Linked DNA regions of Homo sapiens: regions 2 and 3 are each linked to region 1. The links are contacts of gene promoters, found by promoter capture Hi-C in blood cells and fetal thymus (Javierre and others, 2016). All regions are on one chromosome and are shown on one strand. The core of a region is centred on a gene start or on the middle of the fragment in contact, and the rest is flanking DNA. Distances in the headings are between cores, read along the strand shown.

The links. Contacts are between HindIII fragments. The CHiCAGO score rates a contact against its expected background, and 5 or more counts as called.
Region 2: a contact is called between a fragment that was not itself captured here and the fragment with the promoter of DLX2 in region 1, in 1 of 17 cell types (monocytes). The highest score is 5.9, in monocytes.
Region 3: a fragment that was not itself captured here is called in contact with the fragment with the promoter of DLX2 in region 1 in 1 of 17 cell types (megakaryocytes); the score reaches 5.1 in megakaryocytes.

What each region holds. Positions count from the first base shown.
Region 1 is chr2:172,101,357-172,105,041 of GRCh38, forward strand. It overlaps DLX2 (distal-less homeobox 2), which reads right to left and starts at 1,544. Exons shown (of 3, transcript NM_004405.4): 1 at 783-1,544; 2 at 106-290. The coding sequence starts at 1,182. It overlaps DLX2-DT (DLX2 divergent transcript), which reads left to right and starts at 1,650. Exons shown (of 5, transcript NR_126376.1): 1 at 1,650-1,912; 2 at 2,582-2,676. RefSeq lists a silencer at 1,346-1,545. The HindIII fragment of the contact is 7,057 bases long and covers 1-3,685 here.
Region 2 is chr2:171,585,180-171,589,038 of GRCh38, forward strand. It overlaps the pseudogene RPL21P38. Among named protein-coding and RNA genes, the nearest start is that of CYBRD1, 65 kb to the left of the region's middle. The HindIII fragment of the contact is 2,544 bases long and covers 824-3,367 here.
Region 3 is chr2:171,555,949-171,560,088 of GRCh38, forward strand. CYBRD1 (cytochrome b reductase 1) reads left to right here. Exons shown (of 4, transcript NM_024843.4): 4 at 1-2,181. Among named protein-coding and RNA genes, the nearest start is that of CYBRD1, 36 kb to the left of the region's middle. The HindIII fragment of the contact is 1,481 bases long and covers 1,879-3,359 here.

The DNA of each region.
Region 1 (3,685 bases), core at 294-2,793:
TAAAAGTACTTAAAATGAACTTTAAAAAGCATTGTCCTAAACCCGCCTGCTTCCCAGCCATCTCAGGCCCGCGCTCTCCTCGCCCCTGCAGGGCGCGAGCCCCACCTGAGTCTGGGTGAGGCCCAGAGAGGCCGCCAGCTCGGCTCGCTCCGGCAAGGCCAAGTATTGAGTCTTTTGGAAACGCCGCTGAAGAGCCGCCAGCTGGAAACTGGAGTAGATGGTGCGGGGTTTCCGGACTTTCTTTGGCTTCCCGTTCACTATCCGAATTTCAGGCTCAAGGTCCTCCTTCTCTGCAACGATAAAGAATCGTAAGAACAGCGCAACCCAGGGGTCCTGGAGTTCCCGCCCTCCTAGAGGGCCCGGCGGGGGGGACTTGGCTTGAGCAAAGAGGTGGGTGCACTGAACTGTGGCGCCACGGGCAGGCGCAACTTCGCAGCGTGCGATCGGAGCCGCCACCGACCCCGGGAGCTGTACCCTCCAGGGAAGGGGGAGACAAGTGCACACCCAAGAGAAAGAAGCTGGTGGCAAGGAGATGCCCTTATGAGGCAGGCAGAGCACGCCCACTTGGCTCTTGAGGCCACCAGGTCCTACCAAAGGAGAGAGGGACGTAACCGGCGACCTGCGGCAGATTGGAGGCTGGGGAGGGTAAAGGGCACAAGCGGGCGGTGAGCAGGCAGCGTGAAAATCCAGAGCTTTCGAAGGCCCCCCGCCCCAAACACGTTTACCCATCCATCCCATTAACTAGACCGACTCGGCACTCTTGACTTCAGCGTTATGCATACCAGGCTCGTTGTTGGCTGGGGACGAACTGGTTCCATAGGGAGCGTAGGAGGTGTAGGCGGCGGTGTAGCCCAGGTCATAGCTGCTCTTGGCGGAGTAAGGGACGTTGTTGAGGCCGCTGGCTTGGTACTGGTAGGAACCCATGTGCGCGTAGGGCGAGCCCCCGCCGCCGCCGCCGCCCGCCGGGTGCTGCTGGTTGGTGTAGTAGCTGCTGTCGGTGGCGGTGGACACCGGAAGGGTGGGCGACTCCTGGGGCTTGTGGAGGCTGCTGCTGCTGCTGCTGTTGCCACCCGGGCCGGCGCCGCCGCCGCTCGGGGGCTGCTGGTGCTGGTGGTACGTGCTGGAGGCGGCGATCTGGGTCGAGTGCATATCAGCCACTAGACTGTCAAAGACTCCAGTCATCCTGGCCCGAGACGGGAAAGAGCAGAGGTGGCGGGCGTGCGGGGGAAGCCAGGCGCCTCCTCTGTCTCTCCCGGTCCCCTCCAGCAGCCAATGTAATTACGGGGGTGGTGGTGGGGAAACAAGAAAGGAGGCAACCGTCTAGGCGCCTCCTCCTCCGGGGGAGGCGATCACCGTGCGCTGCTCGGGACAGCTGCCTCTGGTCGCATCCTCTTTCGGCCTCTGGGCCCGCTCGGCTCCTTGCCCAGCGCGAGCGCGGGCTCTGGCGGGGGGCGGGCAGTGGAGGGGGCAGGGGTGGCTGGGCCGGGTCGGGGCTCTGGGAGGCGGGAGCAGGTGAGCGGCCCCGAGCGGCTTTACGATTGTCTGCCAGGCGGGCTCCTGAAGTGTGGGCATTTAACACTCGTCACGTGAGCGCTGGCGACGTCACCTAGCAACAGCCAATCAGAAGCAAACGGCCGCGGAGCTCCGGGAACGCCCGGCCAAGGGGCGGGCGTCACATGGTGGGCGCTGTGGCTGCGGCTGCGGCTGCAGCGGCCCCAGGTGCAAACAGACTGCCGCCGAATGTGAGCAGCGAGGCGAGGGGTCGAGGTAGCGAGGAGTCAGGGTGGCCCGCAGCAGGAAGACAGAAGGCGTGGAGACAGACTGGCGTTTTGCCTCAGAGGAAGAAGTGGGGTCCCCTCTCCCATTCTGTGAGCAAGTGCCAGTTCCAGTGATTCGTACTTTCATGTCCGAGGTCAGTTTTCAAACACATTAAAGTACATCGGTGCCCAGAGTCCAGCCAGCTCTATCTTCACTTTTCCTCGAAGTGTCTGGCATTTATTCTTGTTAGCCACTCGGCACTTGACATAATCAATTGATTTAATTATCCACAAACCACGTGTAATGCTCGCTTCTTAACCAATCCGCAGGGATATTAGGACAATTAATCATATAATATTGAAACGGGTTTTCCTTGTTGCTTCAAAGAGAAGCTACATAAACTTAAAGGTATTATTGCTAATAGTATATTTGAAACCACTTTCCCTGGTACTTTCCCGACACGCGAGACTCTGAGTAATTATATACGTTTGATAAGTAAATGACACCCTGAAAGCCATCCCGAGGACTTCCTCCTTCGGGTGGAAAGGTTCACCAGTTGTCCTTGAAAATTCGATGCTCTTGCGAAAAAGGAAATAGGATAATAGGTGAGATTATAGATTTATCAAGTAGATACTAGATTTATCACTTCTCTGTAAATTTACAACAAATATAAAAAGTTTTATCTGGTTTGTTGAATTTAATCCTGTTTTACAGTTTTGCATTTTAGGACCCTGTTCTACCCTATCATTGCAATTTTTTTCTTTTCCCTCTGTTTTTTAAAAAATCGGAAATGGTGACTTCCTCTGTCTCTATAACCTTGTAGTTGGAAACCTTGGCCCGACGGTGATGGACTGCACGACTTGCTGGACTCCCAAGTCCGAAGTTCCTGCGGCAGCGCTTGCTTTGTGGCGCCACCTGGTGGGCAGTGTGCGAGGTTGCGGGGGGCGGGGTAGACGGTCTAATCACGCCCAGGCGCCAGCCTCTGAAACCCCCCAAAAGAACAAAATAGTAATTAAAAGCCACAAAATTGTGCTAGTGCGCACCATCTGAAGCACCCTTTCCTAAAGACATAACATGTCGCTGAAAGAACTTGTTAAAACAACTGTCTGATAGAAAACAAGTTGATACCTTCAAAAATATGATCTTTGGTCTTCTTCCCCATAAAAAGCAAGTGTGTAATTAAAACTCCAGCATTCACACAGAGAAATAATGAGATAGGTAATGCGCCTTTAAGTCTACCTGGATTTAGTTCCCAGCTTTTTTTTGGTTAAGGAAGGCCCCTAGATGGAAAGCGCCAGCTTATGAGAAACGTTGGAGGTGGAGCTCACCTCCACCCACCTGCATTGCTTTATGCGGTTCTCTGCCTACTTTGTGGGCCTCAGCTGCAAAACCAACCTCTTGATATTGAAACATGATTGCCTTTTGGTGTTTTTTTGTTTGTTTTTGTTTTTTTGAGACGGAGTCTCACTCTGTCACCCAGGCTGGAGTGCAGTGGCGCCATCTTGGCTCACTGCAACCTCCACCTCCTGGGTTCAAGCGATTCTCCTGCCTCAGCCTCGTAAGTAGCTGGGATTACAGGCGCGCGCCACCACTCCCGGCTAATTTTCGTATTTTTAGTAGAGATGGGGTTTCACCATGTTGGTCAGGCTGGTCTCGAATTCCTGACCTCGTGATCTGCCCGCCTTTTGGTGTTTTGACTTCAAATTCCAACTCTTTCTGTCACCACAGTGGTAGCTGCTTTGATCTAATGTAGAAAAAAAATTCCCTGAAAAAGACAATTTTAAAAATCCAACCGCCTGCTGGGCACGGTGGCTCACACCTGTAATCCCAGCACTTTGGGAGGCCAAGGCGGGCAAATCACCTGAGGTCAGGAGTTCGAGACCAGCCTGGCCAACATAATGAAACCCCATCTCTATTAAAAATACAA
Region 2 (3,859 bases), core at 846-3,345, 520 kb before region 1:
TGATGACACTTAATGTCCCCTTTCTTTTAGTGGTAACAAAATCTAACTATTTAACAACCCTTGTTGTTAAAGAGGATCCCATCTTTGCCACCTCTTTTTCATCTTCTGTCTTCTGAGGATGGGTCTGCCAGATGTGTTCTCTGGACTTTTAGGAAATTGAATTTGGAGGAAAGGGAAGAAGATTGAGGACAAGAAGCACTCAGGTTAGTGGTGGTAGAGAAATTTCTCAGAGAAAACCCCTGCTTTTATCTGAGCACATGGCCTCCCAGAATCTCCAGCTTCCTTTGCAGCTAGGTGTGACCATATTAGCCAGATGACTAGGTTTTGGCCAATGGAATGCAAGTCAAAATAATGTGTATAACTTCTGGGTTATGCCTTTAAGATGAAGGGATATGATTCTCTTCTTTCGCTTTTTCTGCCAGCAGGAATATGGGAGTGGGAGTGGGTCATCTTGTTCATGAAGATAAAGGCAGCATCCAACACATCACAGAACAAGAGAGAAGAAACCTAAGCCCTTGACTACCTAGCAAAAGAAAGCCGCCATGTTTTCCCATGAGAGGAATAATCTTCTCACATGTTAAAGCCATGGATACCATTTCTTACATGCTTGAGTGGATTTCCACCCAATGTCATATCTGTCTCAGGCTCTGGGCCCTCTTGGCACCGCCTATCCCACTGTAATTAACTAGGCCAAGTTTAGGATAGTGCAAGGTACAATTTGTTCTACACTTTTTCTCTTGCTCCCCACCCTGTGGTTCTTAGACTATTTTCTCTATGAAAAGCATTACACAATGTTTTTTCCCTCCTTCTGTTCTCTGCTCTAAGCTTTCAGTCAATCAGTCACTCTCTCCCCCTCTCTCTAAGGCTCTTATTAAGCTCACCACCACCTTTGTACTGCTGGCATCTATTAAGGCTGCAATTCTGTGGTTCTGCTGCTCATTCCCAACTGACTTGTTACACAGTCAAATGGGGCAATTTATCCCCTTCAGAAAACTCCATGTCTTCTTCCATAGGAAAAGGACAGGCTCTCTCACATAAAACCACTGGAAAGATTACTTTCTCAAGGAAAACAAACACATTCTCGCTGTGATGTCTCATGACACAGCCACTCTTGGAAGAACTAACTGGATCTCAACAGGACAGATCCAAAGACCGAAACCAGCCCCACCCCATCCCCATAGGAAATCTTCTTATGGGGGATAAAGGGTCACTTGCTCAAGTCAGAGAAAATGGTATCTCCCTAAAGAGCAATCGACAGTCCAGCCAAGCTGTTGGCATGAGAAAGAGGCTGTGAGAATTACAGCAGCATCTTCCCAAGACAGCGGGGCATGGCCATGGGAACGCCAGGAATAAGCTATATTTGGAGAAATTGCCTTGTGTTTGGTATTAGGAGGTTTTGTCAGCAGATACCAGGACTCTGGGCATCAGGCAGAAGTTTAAAGACAGGATTTCAGGCCCTGGAGTAGTGATTCTTGACTGGAGGTTATTTTGTCTCCCCAGTACCTCAATGGCAAAATACCTCAATGGCACAGTAGGGTAAAGACATGGAAATAGGGCTGGGCATGGTGATGCATGCCAGTAATCCCAGCACTTTGGGAGGCCGAGGTGGGAGGATCGCTTGAGCATGGAAGGTTGAGGCTGCAGTAAGCCACATTGGCACCACTGTTTACTCTAGCCTGGGTGACAGAGTGAGATCATACTCAAAAACAACAAAAAAGAGAGATCAGAATGCTTATGACCAGAGGCAACTTGGCCAGGGCCTCCAGCAGCCCCACATCCACTTCTCACCCATCTGACTTGGCCTCTTCAGGGCTGAGTGTTTAAAATCTCTGAGGCCCACTCAGAACACACCAGATAGAAAGCTCTGCTATTGCCTTTTGGCTGGAACCTCCGTCTTCCAGTAATTCGCCAAAATGATGAACACGGGAAAAGAGGAGAGGCACCAGATATATGTTCTCTAGGCCTTTTAGAAAACATGGGGTTTTTCCTTTGGCCACGTATATGTGAATCTATGAGAAAGGTGATATTGTAGACATCAAGAAAATGGATACTGTTCAAAAAGGAATGCCCCACAAATGTTAACCATGGCAAAACTGGGAGAGTCTACAGTGTTCCCCAGCGTGCTGTTGGCATTGTTATAAACAAACAAGCTAAGGGCAAGATTCTTGCCAAGAAAATTAATGTGCATATTGAGCATGTTAAACATTCTAAGATCCCTGATAGTTTCCTGAAACACATGAAGGAAAATGATCAGAAAAAGAAGGAAGCCAAAGAGAAAGCTACCCGGGTTCAGCTGAAGTGCCAGCCTGCTCCACCCAGAGAAACACACTTTGTGAGAACCAGCGGGAAGAAGCCTGAGCTGCTGGAACCTATTCCCTATGAATTCATGGCTTAATAGATGTTTAAAATATCAAAGACCTCTGGACTGTAAAAATGTTTCTCTTCATTGAGTAGAAGTGTGGTGTCATCTCCCACAAAGATACATTTAAAGCAAATTTTAATTGTGTCCTAATTCATTGTGTAATATCTTTACTATTCTAATTTAAAGTTTTTCTTGCTGAAAGATGTGAGGTAGCTTATTGTGCAACAAATTACTCAATTGGTTAGAAAACGGGCAGATGTTATTTATGAACTGTTTGTACTGGTTTGAAGATAGTCCCTCTAAATCATCATGGGGCTGGGCGTAGTGGGTCGCACCTGAAATCCCAGCTCTTTGGGAAGCCCAGGAGGGCGGATCACTTGAGGCCAGGAGTTTGAGACCAGCCTGGCCAGCATGGCAAAGCCCTGTCTCTACTAAAAATATAAAAATTAGCTGGGCGTGGTGGCACATGCGTGTAATCTCAGCTACTGTGAGGCTGAGGCATGAGAATTGCTTGAACCCGAGAGGTGGAAGTTGCAGTGAGCTGAGATCACACCACTGGACTCCAGCCTAGGTGACAGAGCAAAACTCTATCTCAAAAAAAAAAAAAAAAAAAAAAAAAAAAAGAATTTTGGAAGAAATAAAATAATTTATAAAAAAAGACAGCTCTGCTATTATCACTAAATATATTTAATTACTAGCTATAATTTTTCCAACAGAGAAAACACCAGGCCTAGTTAGTTCAAAAGGTAAGCACAACCAAACATTCAAGAGATCAGTGCAATCATATGTGAAGTCTTGCAGAGAATAGAAAAAGAGAGATGAGCATCCAACTCATTATATAAGGCTAGTGTAATTTTGATACTAAAACCAGATAAAGACCTGGAAAAGAAACGTTCAAGCCAGTGTAATTTATTTGAAAATCCTTTTAAAAATTTAGCAAATCAAATCAGCAATGTATAAAGAAGTTAATCTATTGTGACCAAGATAGTTTATTCCTACAATAAAAGCTTAATTTCACATTAGAGTAATTTACCACATTATCAGATTAATGAAAAAATATTATTAGCTCAATAGATACAAAAAACAGCAATTGATTAAATCTAGTCATCAATGATTTTAAAAATTCTTAGTAAATGAAGGCTAAAAGGAAACTATCTAACATGATAAAGGGAAGTTGCAAAAATCTAACAGCACATATCACACTTAATGGTGAGACCTTAAAAAGCATTTTCTTTAAAACTAAGAACACGGTAAAGATGACTGTTCTCACCACTTCTGTAACATTGTACTAGGTGATCTAGCTTGCCCTTAAAATGGGAAAGAGGAATAAAAGGTATGAGGACCTGAAAGAAACAAACTATTCCTACTTGTGAATATCTTGCTAGGAAACTCAAAAACTCCATCAAAAAGCCATTAGACTTCATAGGAGCTTAGCAAGTCTGCCTTAAGTAAGGTCAATATACAAAATACAATTACACATGTATACTTCAGCAACAA
Region 3 (4,140 bases), core at 1,369-3,868, 540 kb before region 1:
TTGCTGGAGTGGGGTGTAGTTATTAAAGGGATGCTTTTTACCTTTTGCTGTTTGCTGTGGCAGATTCCCCAGATAACCAAGGAAAAGGGGCCACCCATACCTGGAAATAGGCCATAGGGCCCCTACTACTGCCAACAAGCCATGGCCTACCTTGACACTTGTTTGATCTTAAAATTGTGTCTTGGTAACAAAAGATTTGGACAGGCATATCTGTAGCTTTCAAGTTAATTAATTGCAATATTTTTTTCTTCAGGATTTTAGCTGCTGAACAACTTTCAGTTTGGAGCTAAAAGAGACCTGTCTCATGGTCTGCCCTTCCCTGGGGCAATAGCTAGGGTCTTTCCTGATTTTTATGGAATTTTAGGGGATATTTTGAGCTTTGGGTTCTCAGTAGTGAATTGAGACTTGGAGGTGACTTTTCATGTTTGGAGTATCATCTCTGTCTGGGATCTGGGCTGACAAATTAAAACCTAGAGTAGTGCTTATGCTGAAATGATACTTTTCATTTTTTGGTTGATTTTTTTGCCTTCCCTTCAATTTTAAACTGAAGCATTTTAATATGGGTAGAAACTCTACACCAAATACACTAAACATTTTGGTGCTTAGTGGATTTCTTTTTAGGTAACTGGTACTTACTTCCAAAGACTGAATACAAGCCACACTCCATCATATCCCTTAAACTTCATGAAAAACCATTCAAGATCCCCTTGCTGCAACACTGTTCTCTTCTTCTCTACTAAATTCTATTTCCAAAATTGGTAATAGAGCCAGAAGGATCCCCAGTACCCAGCCCTCTGCCTGGCACAAAGTGGTAGCACAATTAAATTCAGTATGGGTGGAGCATGGTACAGTCTTGGTGCCATAGAAGGAGTAGTTGCATAGTCACACATCATTTGATAAGTTGGATGTTCCATTACATAGAGGAACACAAAATTCCAGGGTTTTTGGAGGAAGGGATTAGATAGTGACTAAGCCGCCAGAATTGAGGTGGCCATTCCTTTTTGTATAGGCTAAGAAACAGGTTATCAGTGAAAAGTTAATTATGGCTTTGGCACTAGAATAGCACTGTTGCAAAGTATTTAAGCACCCCCCATCTCAGCCCTTTATTTTATCTTTCATGTGGGCTAATGTGAGGATAATCTTACAGATATTATAGGAATTTCTTTTCTATCTTTATGAAAACAACGTATATAAAATATATCTAGAAAACCTTTGTTTGAGACTCTTATTTAATGGGCTTTTGATTCTAATGATAATTGTACCTTTATCTTTCAAAAGCTGATATTTCCTACCTAAGCATCTCCCGAGAAAAATATCTCATTAAAAAGCCCATAAATAATAGGGGAGAAGAAAGCCTTAGGTATCAATTCCAAAACAGTGATTGAAATTTCCCAAAATAATTATGGCTTCTGTCATCTCCAGAGATAATCTGGCTTGGTTTACCCCATAATCTAATTTCAGAAAAGAAAGCTTTATTTTAACACTCATCTGAATCAACATTAAAGCCTTTTCTCTCAAAGCGTTTATTGAGAAACTCAAATGAATATACTTTTTGAATTACTGTCATCAAAAGTGTACGGCTTCCTGTGCTGCTTGTGTCAAATGGAACCTGCCCTCTAAAGCACTTTCTTTCCTTTACTTGCGTGGTTTCATGTAAGCTGTGCTGTTTAGAAACAACATCTCAGACTTTACAAAGAAATGACAAAGAAGGCAATTGCACTTTTTAAGGGATATCGACAAGCAGTTTCTGTTTTCTAAAGGACAAAATACAGAGTGTGTGTCATTTTTAATTAGATTCTTTCCCCTGCTGAGTTGGAAATTCCAGTGCAGCACTGATTGACCACAGTTGCCAATCTAAAAGCACAAAGACAGAAGTAAAGCTTTATGCTAATTTTATTTCAATATGATAGAAAATTTATCTTGGTATGTCCTTTTTTAGATAACTCCAGCAGGAAACTGTAACTGCTATGTCTTTAGGAAAATGTAGAAGAAAGAACATTATTGTTCTTTAATTCCTACAAGGTACTCGAAAACCTTAAGTGAAAAAGATTTCTATCTTTTTATCTTAGCGCATTTATGGAAAAAATATTAACTATCCTGAATATTTTATAATTTTGTAGGAAAAATATGCATCTATTTTTTCTTGACTTCTTTTATATAGTAATAAAAGTTATTTTGGAAGCTCTTTGTGTGTTATCAATTTGTCTGGGGTAGCAGGGGTAGGCATTGTTGTGAAAGTTTCTTTGCCATGGTTTTTGGTTTGTTTATTTTTCAGCAGAGATAGTCTTTTTTCAGTTTCTTGATTATGTTAACTGAAAAGCCAGACTCTGTAATGTATAATACATATTTTATAATATTTACTATTAATATTATATATTTATATATAATATTTACTATAAATATCATATATTTATATATAATATTTACTATAAATATCATATATTTATATATAATATTTACTATTAATATCATATATTTATATATAATATTTACTATTAATATTATATATTTATATATAATATTTACTATTATTATATATTTATATATAATATTTAATATTTTATATATATAAAATTTTTCGCAGTAAAGAGTTTAATTAATGCAAAGCAGCCAAGCAGAAGGACTGGAGTTATCACTCAAATCAGTCTTCCTGAGGGCTCAGAGGTTAGGGTTTTTCAATGATAGTTTGGTGGGCAGGGGCAAGGGAATGGATGCTGCTGATTGGTTGGGAATGCAATCATAGGTGTGTAGAAAACAATCCTCATGCACTGAGTCCCCCTCTGGAGGAGGGCCACAGGACCAATTAAGTCATGAGTCACAAGTCCAGATGGGGTCAGCTCTTCACTACCTGACCAATCTTAGGTTCTACAATAGTGATGTTATCTATAGGAGCAACTGGGGAAGTCACAAATTTTGTGACCTCTGGCCACTTGACTCCTGAGCAGTAAGAGATTAGAGAAACTGATGCAGGTCAGGGGAGCCCCAACGTGGAGCTTAGCCCATGTAGGTTTTTGGCTTTGCCCAGGAAAGAATTCAAGAGCAAGCCAGAGGTGGAAGAAAACAGCTTTACTGAAGAGGCAGTGTTACAGCACCATGACTGCTCCTGTAGAGCAGTGCTACCCCCTAGGCAGAGAGTAGCCTGTAAAATATTTTAAAGAGGTTTATTCTGAGCCAATACAAGTGTCAATGACCTGGGGAACACAGTCTCAAGAGGTCCTGAGAAAGTGTGCCCCAGCAGTCGGAATTACAGTTTGCTTTTAGATATTTTAGGGAAGCAGGAGTTATAGGGAAAGGCATAAATCAATGCATGGAAGGTATGCAGTGGTTTGCCCCAAAAAGGTGGGATAACTTGAAACAGAAGCTTAGTTTATAGGTGGATTCAGAGACTCTTTAATATGCAATTGGTTAAAGGAATAGAGCTCTGTCTAAAAATTTGGAGTTGGCCGGGTGCAATGTCTCATGCCTGTAATCCTAGCACTTTGGGAGGCTGAGGTGTGAAGATCACTTAAGCCCAGGAGTTTAAGACCAGCCTGGGCAACAAAGTGAAACCGCATCTCTAAAAAAACAAAATTAAGAAGTTATCTAGGTGTGGTGGCATGTGCCTGTAGTTCCAGCTACTCAGGAGGCTAGGGTGGGAGGATCACTTAAGTCCAGGAAGTCAAGGCTGCAGTGAGCCATGATCATGCTACTGCACTCCAGCCTAAGTGACAGAGCAAGACTCTGTCTCAAAAAATAAAAATAAAAATAAAAAAATAAAAAAAAATTTGGGAGTCAACAGAAAGGAATATTTATGGAATAGCAAATTATTCTACGTAGTGGTTCTCTGCTAGGTTTAAGACAAATTTCTGCCCTGTAATAGCTACAATAAGGTCATGAGGATCTGGTAAAACATACTCAAATATCCTACCCAACTTTCTACACCTTGCTGAATTCAGCATCTCCTCTAAAACTCAGATTTTAGAGCTTTTCAGCTCCTGCTTCATCTCCTTTGCCCCTGCTCCCACCACGCCTCAGTCTGGGTGGAATGTTTCTCCTCACAGCATTCAAAGAACTTGGTTCCTGCCTCTAGCCCATCTTTTTTTTTTTTTCAGTTGCAAGATTTAATAGAGTGAAAACAGAGCTTCCATAAAATGGGAGGGG